4 separate regions of the Homo sapiens genome follow, and all the other regions are linked to region 3. The links are contacts of gene promoters, found by promoter capture Hi-C in blood cells and fetal thymus (Javierre and others, 2016). All regions are on one chromosome and are shown on one strand. Each heading gives the region's core, a stretch centred on a gene start or on the middle of the fragment in contact. The rest is flanking DNA. Distances are from core to core; before and after follow the strand shown. Region 1 overlaps GATA4 (GATA binding protein 4). Region 2 overlaps GATA4 (GATA binding protein 4). Region 3 holds the start of FAM167A-AS1 (FAM167A antisense RNA 1). Region 4 has its middle 42 kb from the start of GATA4.

Region 1 (5,566 bases), core at 1,985-4,484, 380 kb before region 3:
TCCCCAGAACTCTTCTCGTCTTGCAAAACTCAAACTCCATACCCATTAAACATCACTCCTCATTCCCCCTTTCCCTAGCCCCCGACAGCCTCCATTCTACTTTCTGTCTCTATGGATTTGACATGTGGTGTCAGGGGCCAGAATTCCCTTCCTTTTAAAGGCTGAGTAATATCCTACGTGTATGTATATCACACTGTGTTTATCCGTTCATTTCTCCGTGGACACTTGGGTTGTTTACATCTTTCTGCAATTGTGAATCATGCTGCTATAAACAGCAGTGTACAAATAGCTCTTTGAGGCCCTGCCTTTAATTATTTTGGGTATATATCCAGAAATGGTACGCTGGATCATGTGGTAATTCTATTTTTTTATTTTCTGAGAATATAATCTTTTTAATACCTATATAATATTTCCCAATAAGTTTCTTGTACCATTCCCATATTGAAGAACAATAGTTTAACCATTTTCCTTCCAAAGGTTTTCTTTCCTCCATTTTTGCTATTACAGTGATTAACAAACATCCTTGTATACATGCTTTGTAGAAATATTTTCTTATGAATGTTCATAACTTTAGCCATTTGCTTGTTCATTATAACAAGAAATCATGAAAAGATACATGAGACTAAGTTAACAACAGCCCTCTCACTCTACTACCGTCAATCCTATCCCAGTGAGGCAAATGGATTTAACAGCCTGTTATATATTCTTACATTTAAAAAAATTCTCAAACATCTGTACACATATATATCTATTGACTTGGTTTGGCTGTGTCCCCACCAAAATCTCATCTTGAATTGTAGCTCCCATAATTCCCACATGTTGTGGGACCGACCTGATGGGAGATAACTGAGTCACAGGGGCGGTTTCTCCCATACTGTTCTCACTATAGTGAGTAAGTCTCATGAGAGCTGATGGTTTTATAAGGGGAAACCCCTTTTGCTTGGCTCTCATTCTCTCTTGCCTGCTGCCATGTAAGACGTGCCTTTCACCTTCCGCCATGATTGTGAGGCCTCCCCAGCGATGTGGAACTGTGAGTCCATTAAGCCACTTTTTAATTTTGGGTATGTCTTTATCAGCAGTGTGAAAACAGACTAATACACCTATACGTGTATATTTGTGTGTGTGTGTTCACCCATCCACTGGTCTGTCCACCCATCCATATGTATGTCTGTTTAATGCACCTTCGACACTCATAGTATGGGGTCATGCTACATATATTTCTTTGCAATGTGCTTTTTCATTTTCTAGATCAAGATACATGGCCCTAGATTATTATTTTTAAGTTTCTTCTCAATATTCCACATTTTGGGATATAGCAGAATTTTTTCAACCATTCCTTTATGGGGTTTTAAGGTTGTTTCTAGTTTTTGCCACCACAAACAATGCAGCAATAAATGGTTCAAAGGTCATCATGTACTGGTTATTTTTTATAGGCTAGTTTCCCAACAGTAGACCTGCCAGATATAATGGTGTTCATGGTTTCAACCTTAAAAAATACCACTAAGTTAATAGATGCAGTAATTCAAATACAGATCAATAATATATGAGAGTATCTAATTCCCCAAATCCATAGCAGCAAACACTTTAATTTTTGCCAAGTATATGGGCAAACTAGGGACTTTCATGGTCATTTTCAGGTACATTTCTCTGATTTTTAGTGAGATTCAGCATATGTGCACATGTTTCATGGCTATCTGGGCAGCTTCTGTGAGATGTCAGTCCATATCTTTTGCCCATTTGGGGGAAGTGGGGAAAGATCAATTGTTCTTTTCTTATTAGGCTACAAGACCTATCTGTTTCTGGTTTGGTTTGGTTTTAATTTAACTTGTATTTGAACAATTAAGACTTGCATATGTCCCGTCTAAGGTACCAAGGGGGTACACAGCAAAAAGAGTGTCCTTCCAATCCCTTCTCCCCAGGACCCCAGTTTTTCTCCTGGAGGCACCCCATGTACGTATATATGCATACATGTGACCATGTGACCAATCTCTACATATCCTACCAGAGGTGTTCTGTATATGTGGAAGCAACCACCTATAAATTATATTCTTCCTCATATTTATAAAAATAGTGCCATAGTAGGTAGTGTTGGGCACCTTGCCTTTTTGTTAATATTGTATAATGGAGAATGTTCCAATAAAAATTAAAGAGCTTTGTAGAAGCTCCTTGTAATTCTGGAAATATTAACCCTTTTTCTGATACTGTGTGTATTGGTCTTTACTTTCCCTAGGTATCATTTCCAGGCACAAACAGTAAATATTTACAAAATCAAATATATCTAACTATTCTTATATGGCTAAAAAGTTTTAAAATCTTGTTTAAGAAGTTCTCCCATCCCCAAAGTTATATAAATACTTTCCCTTACATTTTCTTCCAGTGTTTTTATTGTCTGATTTTCTTTGCAGTATTTTATTATCTAATATTTTTATTTTTTTGGAGACAGGGTCTCACTTTGTCACTCAGGCTGGAGTGCAGTGGGACAATCAGAGCTCACTGCAGCCTCAAACTCCTGAGCTCAAGCCATCCTCCTACCTCAGACTCCTGAGTAGCTGGGACTAGAGGCATGCACCACCATGCCCAGCTAGATTTTTTTTTTTTTTTTTTTTTTTTTTAGTAGAGACAAAGTTTCACCATGTTGTCCAGGTTGGTTTTGAAATCCTGAGCTCATGCAATCCTTCTGCCTCAGCCTCCCAAAGTGCTGCAATTACAGGCATGAGTCATGATGCCTGGCCTTACTTTTAGTTTATTTCAAAGATGTTTTACATGTAATATCCTTAATTCACCCAAGTTTATTTTTGTTTAAGGTAGGAGGTAGAGGTCATGCTTTCCTTCTGTTTTCCAAATGAACAGCCAATTTTGTCAATACAACTATCCTTAAGCTTCTTATCCACTGAATCGAAACGTCACCTTTGTTACACATCAAACTGCTACATATAAATGTAGCCTGCTCATCTGTAAAACGGAAAATTCACTTATACAATGTAAAGGACGGAAGAGGCCAGCAAAGTAGTTGAAAGCCCCTTCCAAATCTAAGTCTCTTTGTTAAGAAGGAAAAATGAATGCTAGTACAAAGGAAGAAGACAAGGGAGGACTGAGAGATGGGCATCAGAAGGCAAGGATGCCGCATGGGCGCAGGACCCACGTACCCCGTGGAGCTTCATGTAGAGGCCGCAGGCATTGCACACAGGCTCGCCCTCCGCATTGCGGCGCCACAGCGTGGTGGTGGTGGTCTGGCAGTTGGCACAGGAGAGGCCCACTCGGCGGGAGGCGGACTGCAAGACAGGAAACAAATGCTTCATGTCCAAGTAAAAGGTGTGCACTGCCCTTCCACCTCGCGTGTGGCTGCGGAGCTGGGCCTCCCTAACGGGAGGCAGGGCTGGGCCCTAACGACCCTGCATGAGATCTCTGACCTGTGACGGCACCTAACTCTCCTGTCACCTGCGCCACTGCGAGGAATAAATCAGAACAAGGTTTCTGCTGCCCGAGGAGAGCGAACGTGGGCATCGAGACCTGGTTTCCAGTCCTAACCATCATTCACCGTCAGGCGAATAACCAGTGAGCGCCGGGCACTGCCGGCAGGAAAGCTTCTCCTGAGAGGAGAACTGACCGGGGCTGCAGGTGCCGGGGGCAGGCAGAGAGTGAGGAATCACGGTGTCCAAATGGTATCAAAGTCTGAATGGCCCTGGGACCTCAAGAAAGGGAGGCACCAGGTTTATCCCCTCTGTTCTTCCCTCCTTAATATAGTGCAAGCTGGTTGGTGTTGACCAGAATCAAATTATATTAAAAAGGAGCAGGAAGCCAGGAGCCAAGCCCCAGGCCCAAACTCTTCCCTAGCCACGGGGCCCAACACAAGCTGCTTGCACTTCTGGGCTTTGGGATTTATCAACTGATCAACTGAGGTCAGGGTAGAGACCAGCCTCTGAGGTGACCTTCCTTGCAGGGTTGGTGTGGGTGGAGGAGACACTCCAGTCAACACTGGACTGGGAACCAGGAAACCTGGATTCTGGTTCCAGAGTTCTAGATGGGAGACTCAGTACCTGAGTGGCTGTGGGCAAGGCCACTAGCTTTTCTGAGCCTCACTTTCAGTTTCTGTGTGCCGAAGAGGTTGAACTAGACAGCCTGGATCATTCTGGTGGCTCCAGCTAACTCTAAAGTTGTGAGAATTATTATGGGGCTCTCACCCACGTAATCCCCGATGCACACCCTCAAGTTCCAAAATTCAAAACCAGAGGATGTCCCACCAAGGCGAGAGCTCCGCAGCCAGGTGCCCAGAGGAGGCTGCGAGGCACGTGCTTACCAGCCGGCGCTGAGGCTTGATGAGCGGCCGGTTGATGCCGTTCATCTTGTGGTAGAGGCCGCAGGCGTTGCACAGATAGTGACCCGTCCCATCTCGCCTCCAGAGCGGGGTGGACATAGCCCCACAGTTGACACACTCTCTGCCTTCTGAGAAGTCGTCAAACATATCTACTGAGTTGGGGGGAACAGACAAGAAAAGACACAGAGGATTAATTCTTTGTTTATGCCCAGCTCTCACATCTGAGAATCTAGAGCGCACAGAAACAATGCCCTTTCCTTGGAAAGAGAAGACCACCTCGGGCTGCTCTTGCTCTTCCTCACTCTGACTTCAGCCCCTGCTCCCTAATCCCAGACACTGAGAGTTCCCCTGAGCACGAGAAGAGGAAAAAGTTGCAGTGATCACCCACGTCCTGGGCTGGGAGGCGGGACACCTGGATTTCAGTGCAGGTATCACATTCAGAGCCTCCAGCCCTAGGCCTCTCACCTCACACTGAGGTCCACGCAAACCTTGCTCTCTCTTTTTCCCTTTCAAAGTTAGTAAGATTACTTTTCCTTTTGCATAAAGATATAATAAATATTTACCTTAGGAAAATTAGTGCCAAAATATATAAAGAAAATCCAGATTGTCACTAATGTTTTGAGCATTTGGTTCTATTGTATCCTTTGTAAGACTGTATTTATTTTATTCTTTTTATTAGAGACAGGGTCACTCTGTCACCCAGGCTGGAGTACAGTGGTGCAGTCATAACTCAGTCCAGCCTTGAACCCCTGGGCTCAAGCGATACTCCAGCCTCAGCCTCCCAAAGTGCTGAGACTACATGCATGAGCCACTGTGCCCAGCCCTTTGTGAGACTTCTTTTCTCTTTTTGAGACGGAGTTTCACTCTTGTTGCCCAGGCTAGAGTGCAATGGTGCGATCTCAGCTCACTGCAACCTCTGCCTCCCACGTTCACGCGATTCTCCTGCCTCAGCCTCCGAAGTAGCTAGGATTACAGGCATGCGCCACCACACACGGCTAATTTTGTGCTTTTAGTAGAGACGGGGTTTCATCAGGCTGGTCTCAAACTCCTGACCTCAAATGGTCCACCCGCCTCAGCCTCCCAAAGTACTGGGTGAGTACACCACACCCGGCCTTGTGAGACTTTCATATGTTGATCCATATTTTTGCCAAGCTATATAATTCTGAGTCTGTGTGGGTCGTTTGCTTAATACCAAAACATTTTCCCAATGACAAATTCTTTATAAACTCATTTTATAAAATTCTTTATACA
Region 2 (5,926 bases), core at 2,424-4,923, 340 kb before region 3:
TCTTTGTGAGGATTCCATACATTAGATAATGAACTTCATTATTTCTTGCCTACATAGCTTATGGTTTGTATGTGCCACGTGCATAAAAACATTCCCCTAAGGATGCACATTTAGATTATTTCCAATTTTGTTATTACGAGCAATGCTGAAATTAATATGTGCCGGTGTGCTTGTGGAACAAATCCCTAGAAGTGAAAATTCCGGAGTCCAGGCTGTCTACTTTGCAATTTTATGGCTACTACACCTAAGACTCTCCATAAAGGTCAGAGCGATTTACACTCCCACCCACAGGTATCAGAGTTCCTGTTTCCCCACACCTCAGTGTGTTTGTTTTCTTAGTGCATTTAAGTTAGAAAAGAAATGGGGAGGGATACAGAATAAAGCGTTATCTAGAACTGTCTCCCGGGCATCATTCCACCTGAGTGCTTAGAAAGTGCCTAGCAAATGTGGCCTGACCTTTTGATGGGACACAACTGGGCAAGTGACAGGGCTCACTAGAGGTAGTGACACACCCCTGGCCACCCCAACACACCTTTCTTATTTAATTCGTTCTCAGCTTAGCACCACAGACCAACCCCAACTCTGACTGACCTGCTCAGGGTGGTAACCGGAAAGTTAAACAACTTTGGTTTTCCTGAAGATCGACAAATCATTCTCCAGTCTCACAAAGTTCCCTGCACAAATGAACCGGCTTTGAAAGCCACTAGCGTACTTGATAAGCAGGTCCCAAAAGATCCAGAAAACACTTCGGGGTTTTTCACTGACCTGCACCATAAAAAAACTCTGAGAACACCTTGAATGCCCCCACTCCATCCCTAATGGGGCAAAACTTCTTTTAAATAAATTGTTTGAATAACACAGTGATATACTGTACATGTATTTCATTGTGTTGTTATTTTTATCGACTCTAAAAATGATTCAAACTTTTTGAAATCCTTGGAGAATATCATAATTGCTTATGTCTCCATTACACAAAATAATTGTTATTCCATACTTAAATATATTTTCCTAGCCTTTCCAGTAACACCTACCACCATATATCCGTCAAGGCATATTTACAATCTATTTCCATTTCGGTCTCCTTTTCAGCCTTAAGTACTCACAAGCATTAACTGGTATAAAAATCAGCTTCACTGAGGTGTAATGTACATGCAATAAAAGACTCCCATTTTAAGAGCACAGCTCCACAATTTTGCCATATGGAGATACACGTGTAACCACCGTGACTGGGTTCTTTAAAAGGAAACAGCTACGTTCTCCGGCTACGTCCGTTTCACAGGCACATGCAGATCCTATCCTAGCCCTGCAAGGCAAGAACTATCCGCAGAGCTCCACCACAAGTGCTTCCAGCGCCCAGGAGTTTATGATGAAGACAAGCCATATTCTATACTGCATTTCCACACAACCACAATTGTCTAGGAGTGTTCTTCTCACATCTAATATCTGCTCACCTTCACTAACACAGAGTTAAAAGGTCATGGTCTTTTTTTTCTTTTTTTTTTTTGCTTTTCAGAAATTTGGACACAGTCATACTCCATCTTGCTTTCATCCACTCAGTGACTTCTCCAGCCTAAAAGCCCTGCTTTCCTCCAGTGGTTCCCTGAAGTTTCCAGAACCCTCTTCCATCCTGCCCACCGTTCCCCTAGGGCTCTCCAGTTTGCTTCTTAAAGGACTCACGCAGCCATTCTGTGTGGTTGGACCCAGGCAGGGCAGAGTCCTGGGGCAATTACCACCAAGATCCCTACGCAAATATTTGCTAAGTGCCCAACATGTGCCAGGCACTTAAAAATGAGTAAGACTCTGTACCTGCCCTCAGTAAGGTCACATAATTCCATTCATGCAGCCTAATTAATGATTTTAACATTTGTCTTAGGGTCGTAGCTCATATGGAACTTGGAGTGAATTAAAGTTCACATACATTGCAGTCAGGCCACACTTATTTCTTCCAACCTAAGTTCAGGGCTTTACAGAGGCCCCTGTTAACTTTTATTATTTATTATTGTTTTGATTTTTGCCCTATTCACATAACCAACATAAGAACTATGGCAAGATATTGTTAAAACTACAGCAGTTACATAGAAAAAAAAAAGTGTTCTCTTGTTTCTCCTCATTGAAATTAAAAACAGTTTCTGAGTTAAGGTTAATTAGTCTGTATAGTTTTACCTATTGTGACAAATATATTATTTAAATCAAAGGCCAGGTTGCATTGTATTATTTCATGGTACTACACAACATATTAGTAAAGCAGAGTATATCCTTTCTTTTTCTTTTTCTTTTTTTGAGACAGGGTCTTTGCTCTGTTCTCCAGGTAGGAGTACAGTGGTGCAATCACGGCTCACTGCAGCCTCAACCTCCCTGACTCAAGCGATCCTCCCACCTCAGCCTCCTGAGTTGCTGGAGTTATAGGCATGCATTACCATGCCCAGTTAATTTTTTTTTTTTTTTTTTTTTAGAGATGTGGTCTCACTATGTTGTCCAGGTTGGTCTCAAACTCCCGAGCTCAAGCAATCCTCCCACCTCAGCCTCCCAAAGGGTGGGATTACAGGTGTGAGCCACTGCACCTGGCCTCTTTTTCTTTGTCTTTCTTTTTTTTCCTATAAAATGGTCAATATTTCTTTTTTTAAAAAATTGCTGGTTCTTTTCCTGACAAACTCCTACTCACCCTTCAAGACCAAATGAAGCTGGCAGCACTTAAATGACTACTTCCAGAATCTCAGCAGAGGGAAGAATGATGCTGCTTCTCCTTTGCTCTCAGCTGCTTCTCCTCTGCTGTTTCTTCTTTGTTCTCAGCTCATTACCAAACCACAACGATGGGTAATGCACCCATTTTCACATTGAGTGTCCAACAATCTGCGTTCACTGGGGACTGTCCCAGGTTTACCACGAACAATCCCACATTCTGGGAAAACCCTCAGTCCTGGGCACACCAGCAAAATTGGTAACTCTACATGACAGTGAGTGGCTATTCAATAAAATAACCATCATTTATGAAGGGCTAAAGCCAAATTCTTCAAAAGTATTACCTTACTTTTCTAATTTAAGGCAACACTAAAAATTGTTATGATGATCCCATTTTACAGAAAAAGAGGTGAGACCGAGAGAGGTAAGTAACTTGCCCAAGATGACACGAGGCTCCTGGAACTGAATCTAGGTTTGCCCAACTTTAAAACCCTGTGCTCCTCCCACCACACTGTCTGGCCATCTTAGGGCTCAGTGGCAACTCCTCAGAAAGCTGGGGTCAGTTCTCATCTTCCCTCCATGACTCAGGGTCAGCTACTATGTGATGCTGGTCCTCACTAAAGCTGCCAGGCAGGTAGGAGAGCCCAAGTAATGGGAAGAACATATAAAAAGCACATTCACATGCACTGGTTTTTTTTTTTTTTTTTTTTTTTTTGAGAGAGGGTCTCACTCTGTCACCCAGGCTGGAGTGCAGTGGCCTCGGGCTCATGTGAGCCTCCTACCTCAGCTTCCAAAGCTGGGACTACAGGCATGCCACCCCAAGCCTGGCTAATTTTTTAAAATGATTTGTAGGGATGGGGTCTCACTATGTTGCCCAGGCTGACCTCGAACTCCTGGCCTCAAATGATCCTCCTGCCTCAGCCTCCCAAAGTGCTGGGATTACAGGCATGAGCCTCTGCGCCTGGCCACATGCACTGCTTTTAATTTCAGTTGCTTTTATGTAAGTGCCACCTGCATAACACGCTGAAGCTATGAATGCCAACAAGTTCAACATGCCCTGTGTTCCCTCACAGAGAGCCGCACCTCTCCTAAAACACTTGGCTGGGTGCAGAAGAGAAAAACCACCCTCTAGGCCAGATTCAAAGGCTGTGGACTTCATAAGCTATCCGGGAAGAGCCCAGAGAAGGCAGGTGGCAGTTCTTGGCAGAGAGACGCACAGGGAGGTCAGCTTGCCATTTGCTGACATGGGAATTTGGGAAACATCACTTCATCAGCAACCTCTACATGGCATGGCTGACATTTCAAAATCTGAATACTGTGTGCATTCACATGGTATTTCGGTTTTTTGTTTGTTTGTTTTGAGACATACTCCCTCTGTCGCCAGGCCTGGAGTGCAGTGGAGCAATCTCACTCAACCTCCGCCTCCCGGGTTCAACCGATTCTCCTGCCTCAGCCTCCCAAGTAACTGGGACTATAAGCACACACCACCAAACCCAGCTAATTTTTGTATTTTTAGTAGAGATGGGGTTTCACCATGTTGGCCAGGAACTCCTGACCTTGTGATCCGCCTGCCTCGGCCTCCCAAAGTGCTGGGATTACAGGCGTGAGACACCGCGCCCGGCGGGTATTTCGTTTTTACACTGCTGGATGTAACTCATGACTTTTAACTTCTCTCTTTTCCTTAACCAAACACCAAATTCCCTCCAGGATTGTCGGGGTTACAAAGCAAACTCTCCCTGGACCAGTCCTTTTTTTTTTTTTTTTTTTTTTTTTTGAGACGTAGTCTTGTTCTGTTACCAGGCTGGAGTGCAGTGGCGCGATCTCGGCTCACTGCAACTTCTGCCTCCCGGGTTCAAGCGATTCTCCTGCCTCAGCTTCCCCAGTAGCTGAGACTACAGGCGCGCGCCACCACGACCGCTAATTTTTTTTTTTTTTTTTGTATTTTAGTAGAGGCGGGGTTTCAACAGGTTGGCCAGGATGGTCTCGATCTCCTGGCCCAGTCCTCCCTATTTTAAGTCAGAGGCCCCAGAGGGCCCTGGAGAGGACCCCGTAAGCGCGCAAGGCCAGGGCGCCGCGCCCCGCCCCGCACTCCCGCCTGCGGGCTCCATTGTGTGGCCATGTCGCCGCGCTATCTCGCAAAAGTCGCGGCGAGGCTCGGCCGGGCCCCTCCTCCCCTGGGGGTGGCCGTCTGGCTCCCCCAAGAGGGGTGAGGGGGAGGGGAACACCAAGAGCCACAGACCGGGCCTCGGCGCCACTTTCAGGGTTAATCAGTTTGCCGGCGATGTGTATTTGGCTGCACCCCCGGGAACCTTCCCTGGCCACCCAGGGCCAGAGGACAATTTAAAAGCGCTTCAAAGCCTAGGCCCTTCTCGGAGCCAGCCCAAGACTGGAAACCTGGCAGGGGTAGCCTTTACTCTTCAAAGTGAGAACAAATGCAGAAGGATTTAGCACTTAGTAGGTGGTCAATAAACGCGAGCTTTGCTTCTCAAGCCTGGGCTTCCCCTCCCCCACAGGGTGGGCTCAATCCAAACTCACTCCTCCGTCTCTTCCCGAAATTCCAGAGGTCGTTTGCATTTTGAACTAGGGGTTGCCACTTCCCTTTCTCCCCCGGCCCGTGTACTCAGGCCCCTTCTCAGATCCCGCTGCGTTTATTTGTGAATCAGTGGAGGTTGAGACAGGTTTGCCGTCCCTCCCCGTCTGACATCCGATGGAAACACTGCATGGAACCTACCACAACGGTTATTTCCAACCCTGGCCCACGCGAGAAGAGGAGGCTCCACGCGTGCAAGCGACTGCAAAGTCTCCATTTAACTCGGGTGTCATGAACAAGCGCGTTTGAGGTCCCTATGTTCCCGGACACTGACCGGGCGTGTGCGCCCCCCCCCCCGCTGCCCGCATGATGCGCCCACGCGCTCGGCCGGGTGGCACCCGCACAGTGCCGGCTCCTGTTCCGCGCATCTCCCCGGCGTCTCCTTTGTCCATCCCTCCTTTGTTCTCGGTGTGAGACCCCCGACGGGAAAATCATCAGCTACCCCGAGGGATCCTCCAGCTGGGCCGCCAAATGGCCCAGAAGGTCTGCGGTCCAAACCATTGTAATCAGTTCCCTGCGGAGGCCCGAGGGCGGGCGGGGAGGAAAGGGGCGCAGAAACTCAGCAATCTCCAGCACCTTCCACGAGGAAATCCCAGGCCGCTGCCCCCGGCTCTCCAGGGAGCCCGCTGTCCTCCCGCGTCACCCACAGCGCAGCGC
Region 3 (6,020 bases), core at 2,909-5,408:
CGAAACCCTGTCTCTAGTAAAAATACAAAAATTAGTTGGGTGTGGTGGTGTGTGCCTGTAATCCCAGCTACTCTGGAGGCTGAGGCAGGAGAATCGCTTGAACCTGGGAGGCAGAGGTTGCAGTGAGCCAAGATTGCACCATTACATTCCAGCCTGGGTGACAGAGCAAGACCCTGTCCTGGCGGGGGGAGGGGAGGGAAAAGGACTATGCAGCATAAATTTTTCTTGAAGATTTTTGGTTTCATCTTGACACATAATCTGAGATCTAGACGCCTTGGTAGATGAGCACTGTATCTTTAACAAAATATTCTAGAAACAACAAGTCTTTCTTCCTTTTATAACTCAGAAGACGGTGGTGTGATCAAGAGAGTGGGGAGCCCTGCCCCGCCTACCTACTCACGGTCCCTTCCAGCCCTCTGCAGCAGCCTCCGGTGCTGCAGCTCCACTAATGGGACACGAAAGCATCGCCTAACATTTTATGGAACAAAAAGGATGGATCGCATCCTAGGAACCACACAGGACCTAACCCCCCATGGGACAATCTGCTCTTCCCAACCGTTGTCTCCTGGCAGCTCATATCCCATCTCCTCTTTTCTCCCATGAGGCCTGGCACTTTGCTGCCAACCTTAGCAACTCCTTTAGTGCCCACCACATCTGCTAACGCCCCCCTCCCCAGCCATGCGAAAGGAAGGTGTGAGCCCTGCAGTGACCATCTACTGCTGAGCTTTCCTGGGATCGTTTCAGCCCTCGAGGTAGCAGTCTGAGCAGGGCGGGGACTGCCCTGGCACACTAGTGGTTGCAAATGCAACCACATCTCACCCTCTGCTAAGACTCACATTTTCTTCCAGATTTTTACGTATTTGAAATCAGGATTATCCTACAACTTCTTTTGTACAGGTTGTGATTGTAATAGTGCTAGCATTGCCTATTGGTGACATAGGCACCTTCCAAACACAGCACTGAACCCTGCGCAGTGGGTGTCAGAGGCCAGGAGAAACATTCAGCCATCATTGTAACTCCTAGGAACCAAAGAGTTTAAGGTTTTGGGCAAACCAAATAGAGTTAGCACATTCCTAAAGCAGGTGTCAAAAGTAGGCGAGATTGGCGTAACTATAAAGCTGGTTTACAGTGCCAGTGACTTTTAGGTTTTATGAATTCTTTTAAGGAGTGCTCTGACATAAAACTCATACTGGCACAGAGAACAACACTGGGTGGAAAAACCAGAGACACCAACCACTGAGTCAAAAAGTGATTCAGAAAAGCAAAACCCGAAGTTTCAGGAAAACAAACAAACATACATTTCTAGATCCGTTTCTACAGATGCGCAAGTGATAACATCTGCATCTAGCAAAGTCTCAAAGAGCTCCTCAATGGGATACAAAGTAAAAAGTCCAAACAACAAGAAAGCGTTCTGTTTCTTTTTTCTTTTGTTTTTTTCAGAGATAGGGTCTGGCTCTGTTGCCCAGGGTGGAGTGCAATGCTCTGATCATAGTCACTTCAGCCTCTGCCTCCTGGGCTGAAGTTATCCTCCCACCTCAGCCTCCCAACTAGCTGGGACTACAGGCTCACACCATGACACCCAGCCAATTTTTGTAGAGACAGGGTCTCCCTGTGTTGCCCAGGCTGGTCTTGAACTCCTGGACTCAAGCGATCCTCCTCCCTCAGCCTCTCAAAGTGCTGGGATTACAGGCATCAGCCACTGCACTTGGCCATTGTGTCTATTTAAATGCAAGTTTTCTTCCTTTCTTAGAACATAAAAATAATAGTGTGTATTACAAATAACAGCATATTTTAATAACATATTTTTAATGATACATTTTCTAGGTGCCTTGAATATTAAAAAATTGGGAAAGTACAACCTTGGAGGCAGCTACTTGTTCTGGTTCATTCTTTCATACTACAACTTAAATTACAAATTATATTTAAACTTCTTACAGCAATGTAGGTACAGAAGAATTGTACTTACAGCGTAAAGAAAGAACTGGGCAAAATAATTTTTAAATTTTTGACCTTTTAACAAAAGAGAAAAGCTTTTCTTAAGGACTTCAGACAAATGGATCAACAGACAAGGTATCACATATACTCCCAAAATAAGGCAGAGTTATCTCCCGAAACTATCCCCTTAGGGATGCTCACCTTATATTTGAAACATTACACTCTTTCAGGATATACTAAATGCTGTCGGTAACCTGAAAAGAATACAAGTTATTGTTCTGTGGAAACATTATTAGCCTCAAACAACCTTAAGCAATGCTAATATTGTGGCTGGTAGGATAAGTTGTAAAGGAGGCACATTAACAGTCACGGTCTCTAGGATTATAAAGCTACAGTTACAAGTATTTGGTGTCACTGGAAAGAAGCCTGTTAAAAATCGAAAGCAATGCTCTGTGGATTCTGAAAAGCAGCTGCCCTAGTGCTACCTACACACAGGCATACTTGTGGCTTGGGATAAATGTCCACCAACAGCATCATACATAGACCCCGAAACTGCTGCATCCCAAACAACTTAGAAAGAAAAAAGATCATCTGCTCTTAACCTATTAGGGGATGCCAAAGGGGGCACCAAGATCAAATACGAAGTCGGAGTGACATGCCTGAAATGCGAATGTGAAGAGGGAAAGCCCACATGCTGGTTAATAGATTAACAAATCTGAAACACCTGCAACTAATAGTACAGGTGTCTATTTTATCCTCTCATCTACAATCCTAAACTTTATATATGTAAGTTGGCTAAAAAAAAGTTTTCTGGGATCTTCACATTGGAAGGTAAGGGGTGGCCTGTTTAGCTACCTTATAGACAAACATACTAAAGCTATAAAAACAGTGCCATGAAATAATTTTTTTTAAAGTGACTACCCTAAAAAAAAATCATTAAAAAACAAGATTCCTTTCTCACCGGTGATTTTTGGAAGCAATTCACTGATTTAGAGGCAGTTATCATCCGGTTATGTGAGATCTAGGATTTATTCACTCACGGCTCTTGTATTAGAATGTTAAGATTCTCCAGCAAAAAATGAAGTTTATATTCTTCAAACCTTTTAGAAAAATAAAACTTTCAACTGATCCTGTTGCCTCAGCCTCCCAAAAGTGCTGGGATTACAAGTATGAGTCATTGCACCCAGCCACAAAAATAAAACTTTTCAACAAATGTAAACCATACTGAGGTCCATGAATATGTGCCAAGAGGAAGGTGTTGATGGTCGAGAATTTCATCACAAATTAATCCAACTCGTTCCGAAGATAAATTTGACCACATAAAATGAAGAGGCAAGTAGGTGTTTACGCCCTGTGACCCAGTAATTGTACTTCTAGGTTTCAGCAATTAAATAGAATGACATCATTATGATACTCCATTCAACGAGTTATGCAGCTATCTTTAAATGGCAAATGTTAAAACTACATGTAAGTTCTTTGTAACGCATAGAGGACTGGAGAATATTTTAAAACAGCTACCATGTGACATGGCAAAAATTGAAAGTGAGTCTTTTCCAAAACTTTTGACAATATTGTCTTAGCACTACTTTTATAGTAAAAGAAAAGAAAAAGGTTTCACCTTCCACTCCTAGATTGTATAAGCACAGGAGAAAATAAAAGGTATACACTAGTTTTTTTGTGTGTTGTTGTTTGAGATGGTCTCGCTCTGTGGCTCAGGCTGGAGTATGGTGGCGCAAGCATAGCTCATTGCAGCCTCAAACTCCTGGCTACAAGTGATCCCTCAGCTTCAGCCACGTGAGTAGCAGCTACAGGTGTGCATCACCACATCTGGCTTAAATTATTTTTGTAGAGATGAGAGTCTTGCTATGTTGTCCAGGCTGGTCTTGAACTCCTGGCTTTAAGCAATCCTCCTGCCTCAGCCTCCTAAAGTACTGATTACAGGTGTGAGCCACTGCACTGGGTCCCACACTACACTGCTAACATGTTATTGATTGGGTTTGGAGGGGAAGACAACTTTATTATATATCTTTTAAATTGTCTGAACTCTTAATAAACATTTTTTTAAAATGACAGAATTTAAAGCATTTTCTGAACACCCTTACCATAAAATACAATCACAAATTGGTGATTTGGCCTATGTGAATTAAAAAATACTAAATATCTCCCACCTACCATAGTAAGTGTCCAAAGCACTGCAGTAGCTTTCACTAATCCAGTCTGTTCTGGACTCCAGGCCATCTATCTTGCTGGCAGACTTCGGGATCGCTGTTTGTGTAGCAACACAAGGCACATCCCAGCAACGCCACACACAAACATGTGAGCAGAAAACTAATAACCACCGGTAGCCTGTGTAAAACATCAGAACAAAGCCAATCTTTGTATTCTTTCTTTTTTATTTATAAATAAACTATTTTTGTGGTTAAACCCACTTTTCCTTCAAATAGCTTTTTGGGTTATTTCCAAATTAATCATAAAAAACCCTTTCTCCCAACAGAACGGAAAGCATTTTACAGGAAAACATTGATGGGCTCCGGGATCCCAAGATGTGCACCAGATACTGAGTGTTCAGACAGAAGGGACAACTCTAATTCTAGTCTTGGAGTACAAAGATGTCAGTGAATAAGAATCATCCAAAGAAGCTGAAGCATTCATTATTTTTTCACTCTTATTTGAGATCTCCTGGAGGTGTGTTTACAGATTGGGAAAGATTCAAGGAACCTGTTTGGAACAAACCCCTCCAAATGATCCGAATTAAAGGTCATTCTAGGAGCCTGGTAGAAATGCTGGAAGGTTAGGGTCTAGGAGACAAAGGTCACTCGAGTTGCTGCTTCTTATCTTATGAAAGGGAAGAATTGCTTGTTCCTTTAAGATAACTGAGAATAAATTAATCAAACTTAAGAACTGTTTTTTAAACTATAAACAGTAAGCAATCATTTTAAAACTCAATTATCTACCCAAATGTTCACAGCAGCATTATTCATAATAGCTTAAAAAGTGCAAAAAACCTAAATGTCCCTCAATGGATGAATGGATAGAGAAAATAAGAGGATTACTCATACAATGGAATATTACTTAGCAATAAAAAATGAAGTAGTGATACATGCTAAAACATGGATGAACCTTGAAAATGGACTGCTTAATTAAAGAAGCCACTAAAAGACAACCACATTCCACTTACATAAAATGCTCAGAACAGACAAACCCAGGGACAGAAGAAGTACATTAGTGGTTGCCGAGGGTGGGAAGGGCTTATATAATATGATTTCTTTGTGGGGTGATGAAATGGCCTAAAATTAGATTATAGTGATGGTTGCAAAACTTTTTAATACATTGAAAACCACAGAACTATAAATGAGTGAATTTTATGGTATGTAAACTATATCTCAAACTTTCAAAAAAAGAATTCATTACTAACTTTCTGATTTTAAAAAATAAAATCTTCCTGCCTCTCAAGAGCAGCCCAAAAGAAAAATAACAAAAAAATAAAATCTACAAACATAAACCTTATTAAGTGGAGGAAAAAGCTACAGTAATGTAACTGTTAAACAATTCAATTACCTAAAAGTTCTCCAGTTAATAGTCAAATAGATTTTAAATCCAGTTATGCCTTCAAAAAAATCCACGCTTTGACCTAACAGTTCAAAACTCCAAATGCATAACATTTTGTTATTAAGCATGCAACATAAATAAACGCCTTTTAATCCTTGATAGCTGTTATCAAATATATCCATGATTAATCTGTGGAACTGGAAGTTTCACTTCCTAGTGATTTTACATGCAGTACATTCCGAGGTCGCTGGAAAAAAGTTAACCTGTACGTGTCTATACAGTATTGCACCAGAAATATTTTTTTAAATGACCGGATTGAAAGCATTTTCTGAACACACTCATTCCCTTACCATAAAATACAATCAGAAATTGATTTGGCCTAACTTCAACTTAAAAAGTTAACCTGTATGTATCTATACGGTAATTGCATCAGAGGGTTTAGAGTAGCCCTTCTGAAAGCTCAACCCAGGAATATCTTAAAAAAAAAAGATGCAACAAGAAAGTGCTCTTTAGAAAACTGCATTGGTCTAAACTGG
Region 4 (6,023 bases), core at 1,125-3,624, 290 kb before region 3:
AAATGAGTACAACCTCTATGGAAAACAGTGTGGAGATTTCTCAAAGAAGTAAAAGTAGATCTATCATTTGATCCAGTAATCTCACTACCAGGTAACTACCCAAAGGAAAAGAAGTAATATCAAAAAGACACCCACATGCATATGTTTATTACAATGCAATTCTCAATTGCAAAGATGTAGAACCAATCTAAGTGCCCACTGACTAATGAGTAGCGAAAGCAAATATATATGTCATGGAATACTACTCACCCATAAAAAAGGAAATGATATCTTTTGCAGCAACTTGACTGGAGCTGGAGGCCATTATTCTAAGTGAAATAACTCAAGGATGGAAAACCAAACACGGTATGTTCTCACTTATAAGTGAGAGCTAAGCTACGGGTATGCAAGGGCAGACAGAGTGGTATAATGGACTTTAGAGACTCAGAAGAAAGAGGGAGGTAGGGAGGGAGGTGAGGGATAAAAAATTACTTATTGGGTACAATGTATACTACTTGGGTGACAGGTGCATAAAGATCTGACTTTGCCACTGTACAATTCATCCATGTAACCAAAAAACCACTTGTACTCAAAAAGCTATTGAAATAAAAAAAGTTTGAAATCTGACTCAAGCCAACCACTAGCATTATTTAATTGTGAAAAACCAGAAGAGATGTTCTCATGCTTGTTAGGAACAAAAGCAAGATGCCCAACATCAGTATTCCGGAAATGCTAGCCAATGCAATAATATAAGAAAAATAAGAGACAGAAGAATTGGAAGGGAAGAAGCAAAATCATTTTTACCTACACACTGCAGAAGTCTAAGCTGTAGTCCCTGCCTCAAACCCACCTTTCTGCCTTTCTGTTTTCTGTCTTGTGCTTGTGGGGTTGAGATTCTATAAGCCACCATTCTGTCTTTCTGGCTGGCTCTGTATCAGGTTCTGCCCACAGACAACAATGAAGGGAGACTACAAGGCTTGTGGAGGTGAAGGAAATACACCTTTCGTTTGCTTCCTAGTCATAAATGCTTTTCTCTAGCCTCTCTATCATGGCAGCAACAGTTCATTCTTGTAGCAGCAGCTGAATCCAGTTTTCAGTTTTGTCTTTTTTTTTTTTTTTTGAGATGGAATCTCACTCTGTAGCCCAGGCTAGAGTGCAGTGGTACGATACTTGCTCACTGTAACCTCCGCCTCCTAGCTTCAACTGATTTTCCTGCCTCAGCCTCCTGAGTAGCTGAGATTACAGGCATGTGCCACCACGCCCAGCTAATTTTTGCATTTTTGGTAAAGATGGGGTTTCACCATGTTGGCCAGGCTGGTCTGGAGCTCCTGAGCTCAAGTGTTCCCTCCATCTCCACCTCCCAAAGTGCTAGAATTACAGGTATGAGCCACCACGCCCAGCCCAGTTTTTCTTATTCTTGCAGAAACAAACTCTTCAAGATGCTGTCAGAGATGCCAGTACTGTCTGTCACTCACCCCCTCCTCAGACATATGTTTCCAGCCCCATGGGCCTCTCCTCCAAGTGTCTAAATGTTAATAATTTCAACCTTTTTCTTCTGATTGCCCAACTTTACAAGTAATATCTGCCTCTGCAGTCTCTACCTTCATCATACGTTAGGATTATCTTTCTGCTTTAGTGGTTTTTCCATGCCTAGTTAACAATTCCTTTTATTATATTATCTGTTAAAAATACTGATATAGTTTCTGTCTCCTCACTGGTCCCTGGCTGGTACCCCAGCTCATAAGATAGTTTTATACGGTAGCTGGTTATAAAAGAAGTTTCTGAAGAAATTAACTTTCATACCAACACTAACTAGTTAAGAAACATAATTGGGTGTTTATCTGAAATTCACTTGTGACTGGGTATCCTGCATTTTTATCTGCTAAAGCTAGAAACCCTCAATATGGAGAGCCTGCTCCAAGTGTTTTGGGATCAAGGGATGGGATAAGTGTTGATGGGGATGCTGTGTCAATGGTGGGATCCTACACAGGGCTACTGGCATTATGATAGCGTCCTGTTCCAAAGCTTGGATTAGCACACTAGGACAACCCAGGGTTGAAGATAAGTGAATGCTTTACAAAGATGGTGTCTGAAGGGTGGTGAATTTCCCAGGAATATTATCCACACACATTACAATATATTGGACATAATGTCAGCTCTACCTACTCTCTCCAGAATTCTTGTCTTATTATTCGTTTTTGTCAAGTCACTCAAATACACCAATTCGCTGCTGTCTCAGAGCCACCTCCCATTAAACTGACCTCTGACTACAATGGTACTAGTTGAGTCCATGAGGCCAATAAACCTGGGGGCCTTGTGGGCTGGGGGGGAAGGAGCCAGGCCACCCGGAGCTGGCCTGAATCAGTCTTTCTGGGAGTAAAGTCTCTCCTGAGGGAGGTGAATGAACTCTGTTCTCACCCAGCTCACAAGCCACGTTTTCCTGGTGGCGCTAACAGTGCATTCGCCTCCCTTGAATGGCTTGGGTCACAGAACGGTTTGTTCTTGTTTGTTGAATAATAGTACCAGGGAACTACCACCACCACCACCACCATCCCCTTTACATACAAAACACAGAAATTCAAACATTTAGGTTCAAATTTGTATCCAAGAAAGGTCTGGAAAGACCCTGCAAATGTAAAAATAGTTACTCTGGGAGAATGAGATTAGGGGGTTGGGTAGTGGGAGTAAGGCAGTGCTTTTCTTTCTTTCTTTCTTTCTTTTAAAACATTTTATTCACTGCTGCATTGCTTGAAAACAAAAGCTTTACAAACAGAATGTAATGTTAATAATTTGTAACAGACCAGTAACAAAGCAATAACAATAGAAACAAAATTTGAAAATAAAACCCACTTCCAAACACAACTATTTTCATGTTTTGAAATACTGTTTCCCCCCACACACACAATTATTGCAGTTCATAGGATGTGAGCAATTTTTTTTTTATTCTGCTATGTTCCTTAACATTTTACTACAATTTTTCTTTGCATTGCTAAAAATTCTTTCTGAGCACACCCGTTTCAGGGCTAGAAGGGTAGCTTTGAGGACAGCTTGTAGCAAAACTTGTCTTTCCTGAGCCCTGCCTTACCCAGCTAAGGAAGGTGGAGGTGGGGAAGGGGTTAGTTTATCTTGGGCAAGTTCCTTCTTTTCTCTGGGCCTCAATTTTGGTGTTTGTTTTTTTTTTTTTTTTTTCCATCTGGAAAAAGAGGCACTGGAAGCAGGTTCTCCCAGGGTCTCTTCGAGTTCTCATCTGTTACCCTCACCAAGCACATCATAAATAAGGATCATTTGGACATAATTCTTTGTAAATCTTTATTTAATCCACCAGCCTTCCTGTTCCAAGATCACTTGGCGCAATGCAGTTCATTTATCCTCATGATAAATACCTGGCAGTGGACAGAATTTTCCCTTTCATAGATGGAGAAACTGAGTCCAGAGGTGTGGGATGGAGGTGTGGGATGATTTACCACCGTTTCGGCCTCTTATCAGGGCAGCCCTGGGGTTCGGCTGCCCGTGCTATGGGTGATGCATAGCAGACGGGGTCTCCGTGGTGTGGACATCACGGCGGCTTACGTATGACTATTGCACAGATCCATCATGTGCCTGCGGCCTCCCTTTTTTTCCTCTTTGGACTTCAAGTCACTATTTCTCTGTGACATTTCTTTGGGATCTATTCGTGAATAAACCTTTGGAGCCAACACACACACACACACACACACACACACACACACACACGCACACACGACAATTTGGTCACACCTAAGAGGCAGATAAAGCTGGAGCGAGCCTGCAAAAGGAGCTGCAGATAAAAAGTCCAGTATCGGGGCAGGTAACACCCAATTACAACTGAGCAGTATTGACTTACACTTTTCCTTATCGGGGGAATCAGGTATTTGTGTAGATTTGTGTAAATCAGAGAAGGATTTGATGGATACCAGTGCATTGGAGTCTCTAGCCAACGGACAGGTTTGGTTAAACAAAATATATATTCTCCTTATCTGCAGTGGCGACTATCACTGCAACTCCCCGTCTCCCCTCTACTCCTCCGAGCTCTATAAAAACGAGGGCCTTATCTAGCATTTGTAATAGGCTCATGTCTAGCAGGGTCTGTGCTAAAATCACTCTGACAATGCCACAGCTCAGGCCCAGCGCAAGCCATTTTGGCAGACAGATGATTTTCCCTTATCTCCAATTGTCTTGGCAATAAATGTCTTTTTCTTAAGATGCTTGTTTAGACTACCCAGGAGAAAAGAACAGGTACCGTCTCTCTCGATGGAAGAAGCCTTTAAGACGCGGAGTCTCACAAACTGATGCACTTGTTCCATGCAGTTTGAGGGCCGTGGTGCAGAGAGAGCACAGACTCCAAGAGGCTGTTGTTCCTGCATCAGGTCGGCTGCAAACGCCTACAGAAAAAAATAATGCCAGTGACAATTGTGTGACACGCGGAGCTTTGGGTAAGGCAGGAAGTCTTCACTTGGATAATAAAGAAATAAGGATGGAGAAGAAAGCAGAAAGGTGATGAAGGTCAAAGGAGGGAAAGTAGTTTACATGAGACATGAGGAAGTTGCTGATATTTGGGGGTCACTTGTTGAAAAATCTGTGAGATGGTTGGTGTCAGGCTGAAAGTCATGAGGGGATGCAGTGTGGTGGAGTGAGAGGCCTGTGCCAGGCTCTGCCCCTAACCCGCTGAGAGACCGTGATCAAGCCCCTCCAACTCCCAGGCTTCAGAGCTGGTCTTCCATGAGTGTGGTCCACCCCGCGTGGTCCCGGAGGTGCATAAAGGCAGCGACATACTCCTTCTCTGCTACTGCTGGAGCAGTGCCTCCCTGGGACCCACCCTGGGCGACCACAAGGTGCTAGTCGGCCTCGAATTTGCCTTTTCTCTCACTCCTAGGTGCTCTCGGTTGAATAACAAGATGGTCAGAGTGAAAATCCTGGGAGTGGCCTTTCAGTCACCCAGTGGAACATCCTGTGTGAACTGGCATGTCACCTCTATCCACCCAGAGGAGTGTCTAATCTTATGCTTCCACCCCAAGCCCCGCAATGAAATGGATGCCTCATTCTCCCTGGGTAACTTCTTCAGAACTGCATGGGCCTGTCCGCCTCTTCCCACCAACTATGTAGTCTAAACTCCCCTTTCTTAGTTTGATTTGCATTTCCCTAACGATTAGTGATGTCGAGCATCTTTTCACGAGTGCTGGCCATCTGTATATCTTCCTTGGAGAAATGTCTGTTCAAGTCCTTTGCCCATTTTAAAAAATTGGTTGTTTTTTTTTTTGTGGTTGAGTTGTTGGACTTCTTTATATATTATGAATATTGACCCCTTATATGTTATATGGTTTGCAAATCTTTTCTCCCATTTCATAAGGTACATGTTTCACTCAGAGAGATGGTGAGGTGGATTCACATGGGTCTTTTGGAGAAGACCAAGTTTGCTGGGGTGGGGACCACAGGTCTGGAAGGCTCCTCAGGGAACCAAGGAGCAGGCTGACCCTGTCACTTCCCCAAAGGTGCCCTGGGGAGAAAGTCCACCGTGCTTTCCACTGGGCAGCAGCAGGGGCAGGCGGCCTATGGTGCCAGCTGGTGCTTCTGGGGAGATGAGGAAGGTGCTTCTGGGAAGTGGGAAAGGACTCTTAGTTTCATTCTCTTTCACTTACAAAGAAGGTGAGAGGTTCTCCTTAGAGGGGAATTCTCAGGAAAGGAGGAAAAGGGTTTTGGTGGAGGGAGAAGGACTTCACCAGTCTGGGATCACAGAGAAGGAAAACAGAGAGGTGCAGGGGATGGTAGCATTCTGGGGATCTAGGGCAGCTCTGCACAGGGACAAGTCACGAAGAGGCTGGGAGTCAGAGGGTGGAGATGGATGAGTGGGGGTTGTAGAGGGCCCTGAAGATGACTTCCCTCAGGTGGCTGCCCTCTGGAAGCAGGCAGGACAGGGCTCGGAGCCCTGTGAGATTGGCAAGACATCTTGGATGCCACTTCTTATGTGGGTGAAAGGTGATATTTCCACTTCTGAACTTGGAAGGTAGGGTCCTGCCCAACCTCTCTCT

The links. Contacts are between HindIII fragments. The CHiCAGO score rates a contact against its expected background, and 5 or more counts as called.
Region 1: a fragment that was not itself captured here is called in contact with the fragment with the promoter of FAM167A-AS1 in region 3 in 4 of 17 cell types (naive B cells, total B cells, M1 macrophages and 1 more); the score reaches 11.2 in naive B cells.
Region 2: a contact is called between a fragment that was not itself captured here and the fragment with the promoter of FAM167A-AS1 in region 3, in 1 of 17 cell types (total B cells). The highest score is 6.2, in total B cells.
Region 4: a fragment that was not itself captured here is called in contact with the fragment with the promoter of FAM167A-AS1 in region 3 in 4 of 17 cell types (naive B cells, total B cells, fetal thymus and 1 more); the score reaches 9.8 in naive B cells.

The regions. Positions count from the first base shown.
Region 1 is chr8:11,747,817-11,753,382 of GRCh38, reverse strand. GATA4 (GATA binding protein 4) reads right to left here. Exons shown (of 7, transcript NM_001308093.3): 3 at 4,298-4,467; 4 at 3,147-3,272. Among named protein-coding and RNA genes, the nearest start is that of LINC02905, 11 kb to the left of the region's middle. The HindIII fragment of the contact is 705 bases long and covers 2,882-3,586 here.
Region 2 is chr8:11,709,216-11,715,141 of GRCh38, reverse strand. The region is part of intron 2 of GATA4 (GATA binding protein 4); the gene reads right to left. Among named protein-coding and RNA genes, the nearest start is that of SNORA99, 6.8 kb to the right of the region's middle. RefSeq lists enhancers at 4,237-5,160, 5,161-5,926. The HindIII fragment of the contact is 9,957 bases long and covers 1-5,926 here.
Region 3 is chr8:11,366,540-11,372,559 of GRCh38, reverse strand. It overlaps FAM167A-AS1 (FAM167A antisense RNA 1), which reads right to left and starts at 4,158. Exons shown (of 7, transcript NR_026814.1): 1 at 4,108-4,158. It also overlaps the pseudogene TDH. The HindIII fragment of the contact is 6,691 bases long and covers 2,033-6,020 here.
Region 4 is chr8:11,659,200-11,665,222 of GRCh38, reverse strand. No RefSeq gene overlaps it. Among named protein-coding and RNA genes, the nearest start is that of GATA4, 42 kb to the left of the region's middle. The HindIII fragment of the contact is 736 bases long and covers 2,007-2,742 here.